Regions from separate parts of the Homo sapiens genome. Here all the other regions are linked to region 4. The links are contacts of gene promoters, found by promoter capture Hi-C in blood cells and fetal thymus (Javierre and others, 2016). All regions are on one chromosome and are shown on one strand. Each heading gives the region's core, a stretch centred on a gene start or on the middle of the fragment in contact. The rest is flanking DNA. Distances are from core to core; before and after follow the strand shown.

What was found. The method cuts DNA at HindIII sites, captures the fragments that hold promoters and counts their contacts. A CHiCAGO score of 5 or more calls a contact.
Region 1: a contact is called between a fragment that was not itself captured here and the fragment with the promoter of PLK3 in region 4, in 1 of 17 cell types (non-activated CD4 T cells). The highest score is 5.4, in non-activated CD4 T cells.
Region 2: a fragment that was not itself captured here is called in contact with the fragment with the promoter of PLK3 in region 4 in 1 of 17 cell types (M1 macrophages); the score reaches 5.4 in M1 macrophages.
Region 3: a fragment that was not itself captured here is called in contact with the fragment with the promoter of PLK3 in region 4 in 17 of 17 cell types (naive CD4 T cells, erythroblasts, naive CD8 T cells and 14 more); the score reaches 24.5 in naive CD4 T cells.

What each region holds. Positions count from the first base shown.
Region 1 is chr1:45,202,432-45,205,729 of GRCh38, reverse strand. All of the region lies in intron 1 of ZSWIM5 (zinc finger SWIM-type containing 5), which reads left to right. Among named protein-coding and RNA genes, the nearest start is that of ZSWIM5, 2.5 kb to the left of the region's middle. RefSeq lists an enhancer at 1-547 and a silencer at 1,647-1,847. The HindIII fragment of the contact is 2,259 bases long and covers 695-2,953 here.
Region 2 is chr1:45,274,126-45,277,336 of GRCh38, reverse strand. No RefSeq gene overlaps it. Among named protein-coding and RNA genes, the nearest start is that of LINC01144, 28 kb to the left of the region's middle. The HindIII fragment of the contact is 1,233 bases long and covers 1,076-2,308 here.
Region 3 is chr1:45,306,845-45,309,778 of GRCh38, reverse strand. No RefSeq gene overlaps it. Among named protein-coding and RNA genes, the nearest start is that of LINC01144, 4.4 kb to the right of the region's middle. The HindIII fragment of the contact is 1,403 bases long and covers 853-2,255 here.
Region 4 is chr1:44,798,513-44,801,789 of GRCh38, reverse strand. PLK3 (polo like kinase 3) reads right to left here and starts at 1,413. Exons shown (of 15, transcript NM_004073.4): 1 at 1,117-1,413; 2 at 843-950; 3 at 638-754; 4 at 39-168. The coding sequence starts at 1,326. RefSeq lists enhancers at 737-786, 1,557-1,946, 1,997-2,056, 1,741-2,409 and a silencer at 1,177-1,456. The HindIII fragment of the contact is 10,835 bases long and covers 1-2,788 here.

The DNA of each region.
Region 1 (3,298 bases), core at 575-3,074, 400 kb before region 4:
GTCCTCAGCCTCCTCTTCCGCGGGTGCCTCTTCTCGGCCCGAGCCCTGGGGCCGAGACCCCGGCCTTCTGCCCAACTCCTGTACCCCTGCCGAAGGACGAACAAGTCACAAAAACTTTTTTCAACCTTTCACTCAGGTCCACCACTGCTCTTTCCTCCACTGACCCTCTACCCCAATTTCTTTTTGTTTGAAGAGTGAATAGATCTCTCTTCTTCACTCTTTCTATTCCCCACACCAAGGCAAAGAGAATGGGGAGGTATGACTTTTTGGATGTAATAATTTCAGAAATGTGTTGTCCTAATTTAAGTTTGGAGAGGAGAGGATTGTTAGTAAATCTGGAACAAGCGGTTTTAGAGGGAGCGTTTGAGGGACAGACTGTCAGAGGCAATCTATAGCCCTAGCCGATTGAGTCTCGATGAAATTAACACTGGGAAAAAAGCCCCAACAAAATACTGCATGTTTCAGACAGTTTTAATTGTCTGCGTTAGGATTTTTCCCCTGGACCGGTGATGCTTGGGAATCTAGGCTGCGGACTAACAATAACCGAAGATGGAAATGTGACAGCTTCTCCTCCACACCCCCACCCAAGGAAAAAAAAAAAAAAAGCCATACAATCTGGAGTGGGGGTGGGGTCTCTCTTCCTTGTCAGACTGGGGTAAATCAAAAGCTGGTCACGCTGGGTTTTTCAAAAGCTTCTCATTTAACAAGTCCTATTTGCTTTTATCTTTTTGTTATGGAAAAATATATTATACAAATGATTTCTTCCTTTACTCCTCCGGAGCTTCTAGTCAGTTTGTTAATCTTATTAAATATATAAATACAGTGCTTCTGATTTGTGGAATGGTTAAGGAGAAGGATAAAAAAATGATTAACATTGACTTTGCTATGTGGAAAATTAAAACACGAATTTTTTTCTATTTGGATTATTATGGCATTCTGGAAGTACATATCTTTATGCGTTTTATTGTACACTATATGCTCGTATTAATTGAAGAAAATACTGATTTTTGAAAGGAGTTGAAGGGAGGTTGTTTTTAGAATTAAACAAGCACAGAAAGACACAAACCCCAGACATCTAGCTCTCCAGGTAAAACCTGGAGAAAACATTTGAAAAATGTTTTTCTTTGAATCGTGCTGTTTCATATAAAGTAATCTGCTTCTGGTTATTGAGAATCATTGATTCCTGTGTTTCTAACCAAAACAACAGCATACCACAACTTGTTTTGCAAATGTGAAATGTAAATTTATCCTGTGCCAGAATATAGTGACAGTGGCTTGAGCAAGTTTTGTTTATTTGAAAGAGGTTAGTCCTTTATTTGTGTATATTTTTGAAAGAGTGACTTGAATAAATATGTAATTAAGGTGTACAGCTTTAATACTGAAACACTGAAAACATGAAAATAAATACAATCATTTTCCTATTAGTCTGTAAATTTTAATTTTTCTGAGTTTCGATCATTTATTTAACTTTTAAGATTCTTGTTTCAAATATTTTAAATGGAAAAGGATCAATTTAAGTGGTCATTTTATAGTAAGAGATGGATGAGGAAGAATTTTCAAACTTGAGGGAACAAATAAAAGAGAGGAAGAGTTTTAAAGAGGTGTCTATTTTTAAAGTAACTAAAGTGTCACTTTCCAAATGAAATAGGATATTTTGGGTAATCTAGATCATGTTTAAATCAGATATTTCCCCTTTATAATATGAAAGTTAATGTGGTTCTGGAGTTATAGGCTCTCTTATGGTAGTTTCAGAAGACACATATAAACAAACATGTTTTCTGATTGACTTGAGAAAAGACACATATAAACAAACATGTTTTCTGATTGACTTTGGATTTCAAAGACGAAGACCGGTGAATAAATTTATCACTTTAAGTTTATGCTACTTGAGAACCACGAGCTGTGTAATTTTTATTATTCTGACCTTAATTTAGGTTAATAAGTATAGGAGAGAAGGATAGCCTGTTCTGCATCTTTTTGAGTTCTGTATTTTGGTATGAACCACCTTTAATAGAGACTCATCCCCCATCTCCTAAACTTAAAGTTATAAGTAAATGACTTAATCTAGAGAGTAGGCTTTCTAAAAGTATTGCCAAGAGATGAGTAAGGAAGTGATTCGTATATACCAAGATAGTAATCGTGTTTTTCAGTTTATAACTGCACTTCAAACTCAATTAATTACTAAGTGATGCTAATTAAGAATTCTACATATTTCCTTACTGTTTCTAAACGATAGAACCTCAGATTTGGGAAGTTACTGAAGGCCGATGCTTTAGGAAGAACAGAAAGTTGGGGTATTTCTGTGACAACATCTTTTTAAGAAAAAGAGTCATAAGGGAATTTAATGAAAAAGGGAATTTAAATGAAAAAAGAAAGCACAAACAAAAAAGCCTTCAAGGCAAATAAATTAAAAACAAACAAAAACTTGTGGAAAGAGTAGGTAGATTAAATTCTGTAATTTCTAATTACTTTCCACACAAAATCTGGTAATGGGAAGTCATGAATTCTGGTTAAAAATTGGATACTTCAGATTTTAAATCAAAACTAAAACTTTTCCAGCTATGCTCAAAGGATACATTTCTTTTATGTAAGTACTGCATCAGAAGTAGTATTCCTTTTAAAAGGGGAAAATTGCAAATTAGTCTCTTCAGGGATGTCTGTAAGTTTAAAGCTATGTCAATAGACTTACAGTCTGATCTCAGTATTGTAAAGGTTAGAGTATGAACTCTATTGAAAACATATGAATGTTTTCAGCATCTGCATTTTTAACTTGTTTCAGAAGCCCATGGATATAGTAGTAGTATAAACTTTGGGAAAATACTTATTCAGGAGTCTGCAGATGGCATAAGAATAAGACACCTATAATTTACTAACGGTTTTAACATTTTGACCCTTTTGCTATCCACTGTATTTTAAATTGATTTCTTTGTATTTGGTAAAACTTAAAGAAGCTTTGCTTTTTCTCAGGAAAATCTGAATTGATTGAAGGAAAAAAAATTAACAGTTTTTCTCACTTAAACACAGAAATGTTATATTTACTTGGATATTTAGTTTTAAAAATTGGCTAAAGGCATGCAGGGGCCTTCTGCGCCTGGTACATCTTAGTTATGTACGTATTTATCCAGAAATTTTAAGTAGATTTTGACAGGTGACTTCAACAAAACCCCATAGTTTTAGTCTACACATTTTTTAATAAGTACATGATTTGTTCTTGAAGTCTTCAAGACTAGAACCAGAATGCTAAGTATTACCTTATGTGGAAGAGGTACAATTACAAAGTCAATAATGGAAATATAAA
Region 2 (3,211 bases), core at 443-2,942, 480 kb before region 4:
GTTATAATTGCCTACATATTTACTTTTAATGAAGTATTTATTTCTTCATATACCTTCAAGTTATTGTCTAGTGTTTCTTCATTTCACCTTGCAGGACTCCCTTAAGCATTTCTGGCAAGGCTGGTCTAGTGGTAATTAACTCCCTCAGCTTTTGTTCATCTAGGAATATCTTAATTTCTCCCTCACTTTTGAAGGACAGTTTGTTTGTTTGTTTGTTTTGAGACGTAGTTTTGCTCTTTTGCCCAGGCTGGAGTGAAGGGGCATGATCTCAGCTTGCTGTAACCTCTGCCCCCCAGGTTCAAGCAATTCTCCTGTCTCAGCCTCCCAAGTAGCTGGGATTATAGGCACCCGCTACTACAGCCAGCTAATTTTTGTATTTTTAGTAGAGATGGGGTTTCACCGTATTGGCTAGGCTGGTCTCGAACTCCTGACCTCAGGTGATCTGCCCACCTCAGCCTCCCAAAGTGTTAAGATTACAGGCATGAGCCACCATGCTTGGCTGAAGGACAGTTTTGACAGATATAGAATTATTGGTGTACAGTTCTTTTCTTTTAGCACCTTGAATATATCAGTCCACTGCCTTCTGGCCTCTGAAGTTTCTAATGAAATATGTGCTGATAACCTTATTGAGGATCCCCTGTGATGAGCTGTTTCTTGCTGTTTCAGGATTCTCATTTTGTATTTGGCTGTTGAAATTTTGATTATAATGTCTCAGTGTGGGTCTCCTTGAATGCATCTTACTAGGATATCATTGAGCTTCTTGGATGTTTACATTCATGTCTTTAATCAAATTTGGGATGTTTTTTGTCATTGTTTATTCAAATATTCTCTCCTTCTCCCTTTCTCTCTCTTCTTCTTCTGAGAATCCCACAATATGTATGCTGGTCAGCTTCATGGTGTCCCAGAGTTCCCTTAGGCTTTGTTCACTTTCCTTCAACTTTTCTTTTTTTTTCTGTTTTCCAGACTCACTAATTTTCATTGTCCCACCTTCAGTTCACTGACTCTTCTGCCTGCTTAAATCTGCCTTTGAATTCCTCTAATGAATTTTTCATTTCAGTTATTGCACTTTTAAGCTTCATAATTTACTTTTTGTAGATTAAAAAAAATCTATTTATATTACTATTTTGTTCATACATTGTTTTATTGGCTTTCTCCACATCTTCCTTTAGTTCTTTGAACATATTTAAAACTGTTGTTTTAAAGTCTTTCTTGCCAGCACAGTGGCTCATACTTGTAATTCGAGCTACTCAGGAGGCTGAAGAGGGAGAATCACTTGAGCCCAGGAGTTCAAGGCTGTAGCGCACTGTGATCACACCTGTGAAGATCCACTACAGGTGGGGTGCGGTGGATCATGCCTATAATCCTAGCACCTTGGGAGCTGAGGCAGGAGGATCACTTGAGGCCAGGAGTTTGAGACCAGCCTGGACAACATAGCAACACTCTGTCTCCGCAATAAAAATAAAAATAAAAAAATAAGGGCCACTGCACTGTGGTCTGGGTGACAGACAATGAGACCCTATCTCTAATAAAATAAAATAAAGTCTTTCTCTAGTACATCACCCATTAAGTCTTTTTCGGGGACAGTTTCTGTTGATTTATTTTTTCCTTTGGGCCATATTTTCCTGGCTTTTAAAAAATGTTTTGTGATTTTATTGTTGAAAACTGGACATTTGCATCTAATGTGGAAACTCTGGAAATCAGATTCTCCTCAGGGTTTGCTGGCATTTGTGATTGTTTTTGTTTATTTATTTATTTTTTAAATTTTATATGCAGTGTTTGTGCCAAAGATCAGCCTGAGATGAAAACTTAAGGTCTTCTCAGGTCTTTTCTGAAACTGCACCTTTTCCTAGGCATGTATACTTTTAAATTTTAATTTATATATTTTAACATACAAAAACCACTTTATATGCAATTGTTTTTTAATGTCCTAGTCTTCAGTGTCTGGCTCCCAAAAGGGGAAAAAATGAAAGAGAGAAGAAAAGGATCCTGGGCCTTTAAATCCCCAGGAAGTCACTTCAACTATAGAGGAGGGACTTGTGGCAATGGAGGGAGGTGCAACAACAATGGCCCTTTGACTCTCTGCACTTCTGTTACCAGAAGCAGTAATCAGCAATCAGAGCACAGATCCCTGATATTTGGAGAACAGAGCCATCCTGGCTCCCACAAGCTATGTGCAGGTTGCTCCAGGAACACATCATATCATTCTCCTTGTTGGTGGGAGATGGGTAGCTGCTCCTGTGGTAACAGTTGAAATTTACTGAAATTAACTACAATTTATCACCAAGTCTTCCCCTGGAAGTTGCAAGCTTTCAATAGACTCTGGATTTCCAAAACTGTTACATCAGACAGAATCTGACAGTGCAATTGTTGTCTAGGTGGGGAGATATATTCTTGGTTCTTCCTACTCTGCCAACTGCCCAGAATCATCTCCAGATTTTTGTTTAGATAGAAGTGCAGGTTCCACTCTAAGAAAACCTTGGGGATGTAGGTATCTGAGGGAGTTTGTAGGTCTTAGAGTGGAAGTTCAAGAAGATACAGAAGAATGATTGGGGACCAAAACAAAGAAGGAGGCTGGGTCAGTTGAGAGGATGTATAGAACAGGTAGAGAGTTACAAGGAGAGTTAGAAAGGTAAGGTGACACCTTTGGGTGGAATTTATCTTAAGCATTCCTTGGTGAAAGAGGTACACACAGGCCAGGTGTGGCTGAGAGTCTTCCTGTAGTGATTTGGTAACAACAGGGTACTGGACTCCTGCAGCTTCATATGTGGGTGCAATATAAAAAGAGGGGGTTAGGTGGCCCAGAGCATCTGTCCCAGGGTCACATGGTCACTCAGACCCAGGGCCCAGTTTGTGGGGGGTCCCTGCCTCCCTCTCCAGTCTTCATTGCACTCTGCTGCAGACCCAATAGCCTCCTTTTAGACCCTCCATCATGCCACGTTCTTCCCTACCATAGGAGGCACATGCTCTCTGCCTGGGATGCCCTTAGTCTTCCTTCGGATCTTGACTAAAACATCACTTCTTTGGATATACCCTAGATCCCCCACCATTCTCTCTCATCACATTGTGTATCATTCCTTCAAGAACTTATCACAGTTGTAATTTTACATTTATTTGTGTGTTCATTTGATTAAAGCCTCTCTCCTCTTTCTTGTCTGTAAGTTTCAGAGGGACCATGCCTGTTTTATATACCGGGTCTCCCAGCATTTATCCC
Region 3 (2,934 bases), core at 305-2,804, 510 kb before region 4:
ATGCAGTTTATTTTGACCGGCATCTTCTATGGAGCCTGATGAGGCTTTAATTGCTGTCAGTGTTTAAGATTTAGCAGGACTTGGTGTCCTTTTTGACCCAGGAGTCAAAGCCCTGTAACTCAAGGTCACAAGGACTTTAGAAGTACACACAAGAAGACACATGGATATAGTAACCTCAATTAAAAAAATTTTTGGGCTGGTCGTGGTGGCTCATGCCTATAATCCCAGCACTTTGGGAGCCCAAGGCAGGTGGATCACTTGAGGTCAGGAGTTCGAGACCAGCCTAACCAACATCATGAAATCCCGTCTCTACTAAAAATACAAAGATTAGCTGGGTATGGTGGCGTGCGCCTGTAATCCCAGCTACTCAGGAGGCTGAGGCAGGAGAATCGCTTGAACCCGGGAGGCAGAGGTTGCCTTGAGCTGAACATCCCTCCTTCTTAAACAATTAGTCATTTTATTTTAGGACTAAATTTACCATTCAATATTTTTTTTTTTTAGTAAGTGCTTTTTTTTTTTTTTTTTGAGATGGAGCCTTGCTCTGTTGCCCAGGCTGGAGTACAGTGGTGAAATCTCGGCTCACTGCAATCTCCACCTCATGGATTCAAGCAATTATCCTGTCTCAGCCTCCTGAGTAGCTGGGACTACAAGCGCATGCTGCCATGCCTGGCTAATTTTTGTATTTTTAGTAGAGATGGGGTTTCACCATGTTGGTCAGGCTGGTCCAGAACTCTTTACTTCAGGTGATCCACCCACCTTGGCCACCCAAAGTGCTGGGATTACAGGCATAAGCCACTGCTCGCAGCCACCATACAAGATTCTTTCTCGTATAACATTATTTCTCTTTAAGCTTTCTTACCATAAAAAACCTTTTTTTTTTCTGTCTTTACATCTCTTTTTATTTCCTGGTTTCTTTTACCTTGTTTTATTCACAACCTTAAAATAATCTTTGAATTAGACAAAACTTTTTCACCTTTTTTAAGAAAGTTCACACTTTTTAAAATCAAGAATGTTTTCCTATATTATATATTTTATTGGAAAATACCCAAATAATGAAATATCTATTAATTTAACTTTATATTATAAATTAAGACAAATTTGTCTGCCAGTATTTATCCCATTACATTTACCTAATTTTTTTATTTTAATGGTTTACCTAGATTATGAAAACCACAAGTCATGATTTTTTTTTTTTTTTTGAGATGTAATTTCGCTCTTGTTGCCCAGGCACCTGTAATCTACTGTAATCTCCAGTAGCTGGGATTACAGGCACATGCCACCACAGCTGGCTAATTTTGTATTTTTGGTAGAGACGGGGTTTCTCTATGGTGGTCAGGCTGGTCTTGAACTCTTGACCTCAGGTGATTTGCCTGCCTCATTCTCCCAAAGTGCTGGGATTATAGGCGTGAGCTACTGCACCCAGGCCCAAAAGTCATGATTTAAAGTTATGAAACCGCTGGGCGTGGTGGCTCATGCCTGTAATCCAGCACTTTGGGAGGCCGAAGTGGGCAGATCACCGGAGGTAAGGAGTTCAAGACCAGCCTGGCCAACATGGTGAAACCCCATATCTCCTAAAAATACAAAAATTAGCTGGGTGTGGTGGCGGATGCCTGTAATGCCAGCTACTAGGGAGGCTGAGGCAAGAGAATCCCTTGAACCAGGGAGGCAGAGGTTGCAGTGAGCCGAGATTGTGCCACTGCACTCCAGCCTGGGTGACAGAGTGAGACGCCATCTCCAAAAATAAAATTAAAAAATAAATAAAGTTATGAAACTGCCATTGCAAAATTATAACTGAGACAGTGAGGAAGATATGACCTAACTGACTCCATCTTGCTTCTAAACTCCAAGCTGTCGTTGTTCATTCCTGGACTTTGGGAGAAATTTAGTTTATAGTTTAGCTTTGAAACAAAGATGGTAACAGTCCTTTCCCAAAACAAACCTACCTACCATCTGTGGATTAGACTGCCTAAAGCCACAAAATTAGAGGTTATGGTAATTTTACTAAATAATTCAAGATATAACTACATTCATTAAACCAATATCAACATCTTATTTGTTAAAGGTTACACAAGCAAGATCATTCTGTCTTGGGCTGCGTTTATAGTTTTGTTACCCCTATGCCAAATTTTGACACCTTATAATATTTGGCAGGGATGAGTATGAAATTGCTTCATTAATACATGCAAAGAAAAATGTAGGCGGGCAATTCTTAAGATGTTTCTAATATTACCTTACCATTAATTTTAAAGCAAGCTTATTTATTAAAGATTTTACTTAAGTTACATAAACTTGAAAGAGCATTTCACTAGTCTTTTGTAGTATATGATTTAAGCGCTTTTCATTGTTTTAAGCCAATTAATTAGCACTCTTTTATATATTTTTAGTAGTGAAACACTGTGTACACAACACATAAATACACAGACATATTAGGCATGCTTTAGAACTACATTTTACAGATTTATGAAAACCTTTTTTTCCCCTATATTAGACTTTCAGATTCTTGATGACCTATTTCATAACCCTGGGCAGTTTTCAGCTAAATAGCCTTAAATTTGCATATTAAAGGAAACAACTTAGGTGAAAGTCAAATAGCAAAATTTACATTATAAGGTCGGAGAGAAAACGTTTGGTGTGCTAGAGGGAAATTAAAACAGATTTAATTGCCAATTAAGCATAAAATCGTAGAAATTATAAAGGCCTTTTAAATATATATACACACACACATAGACACACACATAAACAAATATCCTATAGCTTTTACTTCAGAACTTTTAGCCATGAGATAAACACAAATTCACCACCCTGCAAAAAGAACTTGTTGGATGCAGTGGTTTTTATCTTAATAGAAAAATAACAGCAGATTTAGAGCAGGCAGAAAAGAAAAAAATCGAGAAAAAGAGCACTTAGGAACTCTATAATTTGCAGGTCGATCTT
Region 4 (3,277 bases), core at 164-2,663:
CTCCCCAACCTCCCATCCTCCAGGCTCAGGAGTCTCACCCAACTTGAGGTCCCGGTGCAAGATGCCGCGCTGGTGCAAGTACTTGAGGCCAGAAAGGATCTGCCGCAGGTAGTAGCGCACTTCTGGCTCCAACAGGGTGTGCCGGGCCTTCCAGATGTGGGCCAGGGACTGCAGAGAGCCACTGCCTCAGCCCCTGGTGAGCCCTCCCTCCCCCTCCCCCTCCATCTGTGCTCCCTGAGGAAGAAACAGGGCCCCAGCTTTGGGTCTTAAGACTGTCTTCTCGGCTGGGTGTAGTGGCTCACGCCTGTAATCCCAGCACTTTGGGAGGCCAAGGCAGGTGTATCACAAGGTCAGGAGTTTGAGACCAGCCTGACCAACAGGGTGAAACCCTGTCTCTACTAAAAATACAAAAATTAGCCGGGCGTGGTGGTGCATGCCTGTAATCCCAGCTACTCAGGAGGCTGAGGCAGGAGAATTGCTTGAACCCGGGAGGCAGAGATTGCAGTGAGCCGAGATCGCGCCACTGCACTCCAGCCTGGGCAACAGAGCAAGACTCCATCTCAAAAAAAAAAAAAAAAAAAAAAAAGACTGTCTTCTCTCCCTCACTCTCATCCCTGCGGGAATCACCATCTTTCACCTTTCGGCTGCAGAGCTCCAAGAAAATGTAGATGTTGTCAGCGTCCTCAAAGTGGTGCGAAAAACGCACGATGTGGCGGTGCTGCAGGTCTCGGTGCAGCTCAATCTCATTTAGGATCTGCGATGAGGGCGCGGAGTCGTCATCCTTCCATGGTTCCCATGCCACCGTCCCCACCCCACCCCTCGCCCGCTGAGCCTGGACCCACCTTCTCGCGCTGATGCGGCTTGGCGACGCGGCTCTGCGGGATGACTTTGACAGCGTAGGCGCTGCCAGTCTCTGTGTCAGTGGCCTCGTAGCAGCGGGCGAAGCCCCCCTGTGAAGAGGGGGCATCAGGCTGGTTGTTCCAGGGGGGCCGAGTCTGGCCCGCGGGCGTCCCCGCGTTGGGGGTCAAGTGCCCACGCCCTGCTCGGCGCCAGAAAAGAGGCCGGCCGGGACCCCCACCTCCACCATCACCACCCCGCGGACGTCCCTCGGCCCACCTTGCCCAACAAGCGGCCTTTGAGGTAGGTGCGGCCGCTGCGCGGGTCCGTGATGAGGCGCCCGGGGTCTGACGTCGGTAGCCCGGCCAGCATCTCCAGCTCAGGTCCGCGCAAGGCACTCGGAGGCGGCCCGGGCCCGGCCGGGGGAGCGGGCGCGGCGGCCGCACGCTGGAAGGGGCGCGGAGACAGGAAACCGGCGGCAGGCTCCATGCGGCCGGCGCGTCGCAGCGCGGTCCCGGCTTCTCGGTTCCGCCCGGCCCCGGCCGCGCGTGGCGCTGCCTGGATTTGCTACGCTGCGCTGGCGCCCAGGGGAGCCCAGCGTTTTATCAATGAACGCCTGCCCCCTCCCCGGCGTCTGGTCACCGAGAGTCCCGCCCCCTTCCTAGCAGCGAGTCGAGGAGAGGCCACTCCCATTCCCGGCCTTACATCACCCAGAAGCTCCTCCCCCACCCAACGCACTGCCAGACCCCGCCTCCTCGCCGCGCCCCGGGGCGCAGCCCGGCAGCTAGTCACCATGCAGGTGCAACCAGGCCGCAGGGGCCAGCTGATCCCTGTCCGCCTCTCACCCCTCCTTGGCCACTGCGAGTCCCGCTCGTGGGGGCCTCTTTCTTTCCCCATCCTTCGGGATGTGTGCTGAAGTCCGAGTGGGGCCCGGGCATCTGGGGGCGTCTCCCCAGCAACTAGATAGATCAGCGTTCCAGCCAGCAGCGGAGAGGCAGGGGCGGCGCTCGCTTTTGCCCGGGCATGTTACCCGACACTCCCCTTTCAGTGTGCCGGACCGCGTGTGTCCCTCGCCCTCGCCCGGGGCCCGGCCCAGTGCTGCCCTCTTTAGGGCCTGGAAGGAAGGCACAGTCTCGCGCCTGGCTTGCCTGGCCCGAGGGCTGCCTTGCCAGGTTTAGGAGTCAAGCAGAGTCTGGAATTTCAAGGCTTTTACCATGCTCCAGGCCACATCTTCCGCTACCCACTTCTACACTCTTGAGGGGCAAATTTCGGGTTCCTCCGGGGTCCGCAATTCCCTTCCTCTGAAAATACCCCCGGGCCTGGGTCAGCAGCCAGAGGCCAGAAAGTGAATGGGAATTGGATTTTCTTTTTTCTTTCTTTCTTTCTTTTTTTTTTTTTTGAGACAGAGTTTCGCTCTTGTTGCCTAGGCTGGAGTGCAATGGCGCGATCTTGGCTCATCGCAAACTCTGCCTCCCAGGTTCAAGCGATTCTCCTGCCTCAGCCTCCCGAGCAGCTGGGATTACAGGCATGCGCCATCACACCCGGCTAATTTTGTATTTTTTTTTTTTTAAGTAGAGACGGGGTTTCTCCATGTTGGTCAGACTGGTCTGGAACTCCCAACCTCAGGTGATCTACCCGCTTCGGCGTCCCAAAGTGCTGGGATTACAGGCGTGAGCCACCTTGCCTGGCTGGGAATTGCATTTTCTCAAATGCTAGACACGGGCACTTGGGCAGCTAGTCTCTGGACCACGTGGACCCCTAGACCCCTGCGCAATGCCCACCCTTCCCAGGGCCAGAGACAGAGGCCCAGGACCACAGGCCTCCTGGCCTTGTCTCTCACCTCTCTGCCCTCCCTCTGTGCCAGCCAATCAATTACCATGCCATTCCTCAAAGATTTATTGAGAGCATCTGCTAAGTGCTGGACACTATCTCGAATAAAACTAATCAAGCTTGCAGCCCTCATTTAGTTTACATTCTGCTTGATGGAAACAGACAATAGGCAAGCAGATAAACAAGGTAATTGCAGGCTGTGAAAAGTGCTATGAAGGAAGAATAAACAGAAGAGCAAATGAAGAGCCTACTTTAGAAAGAGTAGCCAGGAAAGTCAACAAATATTTGCTGAGTACCCAATTTGTGCCAATTTTACCTCCCAAATAGCTCTGATATCTATCCCCTTGGCTCCATCTTCCCCTCACACCCTGGCCTGGGCCACAGTCTCTCTTGTCAGGATGATTGCCACAGCTCCTTGCTGCTCTCCTGGCCTTTGGTCTCATGCCCATTTCATCCCCTCCATATGCTATTAGAGGGATCCCACCCAATCCCTCATCAGACTCACGAGGGCAAACTTCTCCAACCTTGTCCTTCATGACCACTGAAGGGAGACCCACGATAGCCTCAGATGTGGAGAAATACTAGTAGCCAAAATTACTGAGGGGGAGTT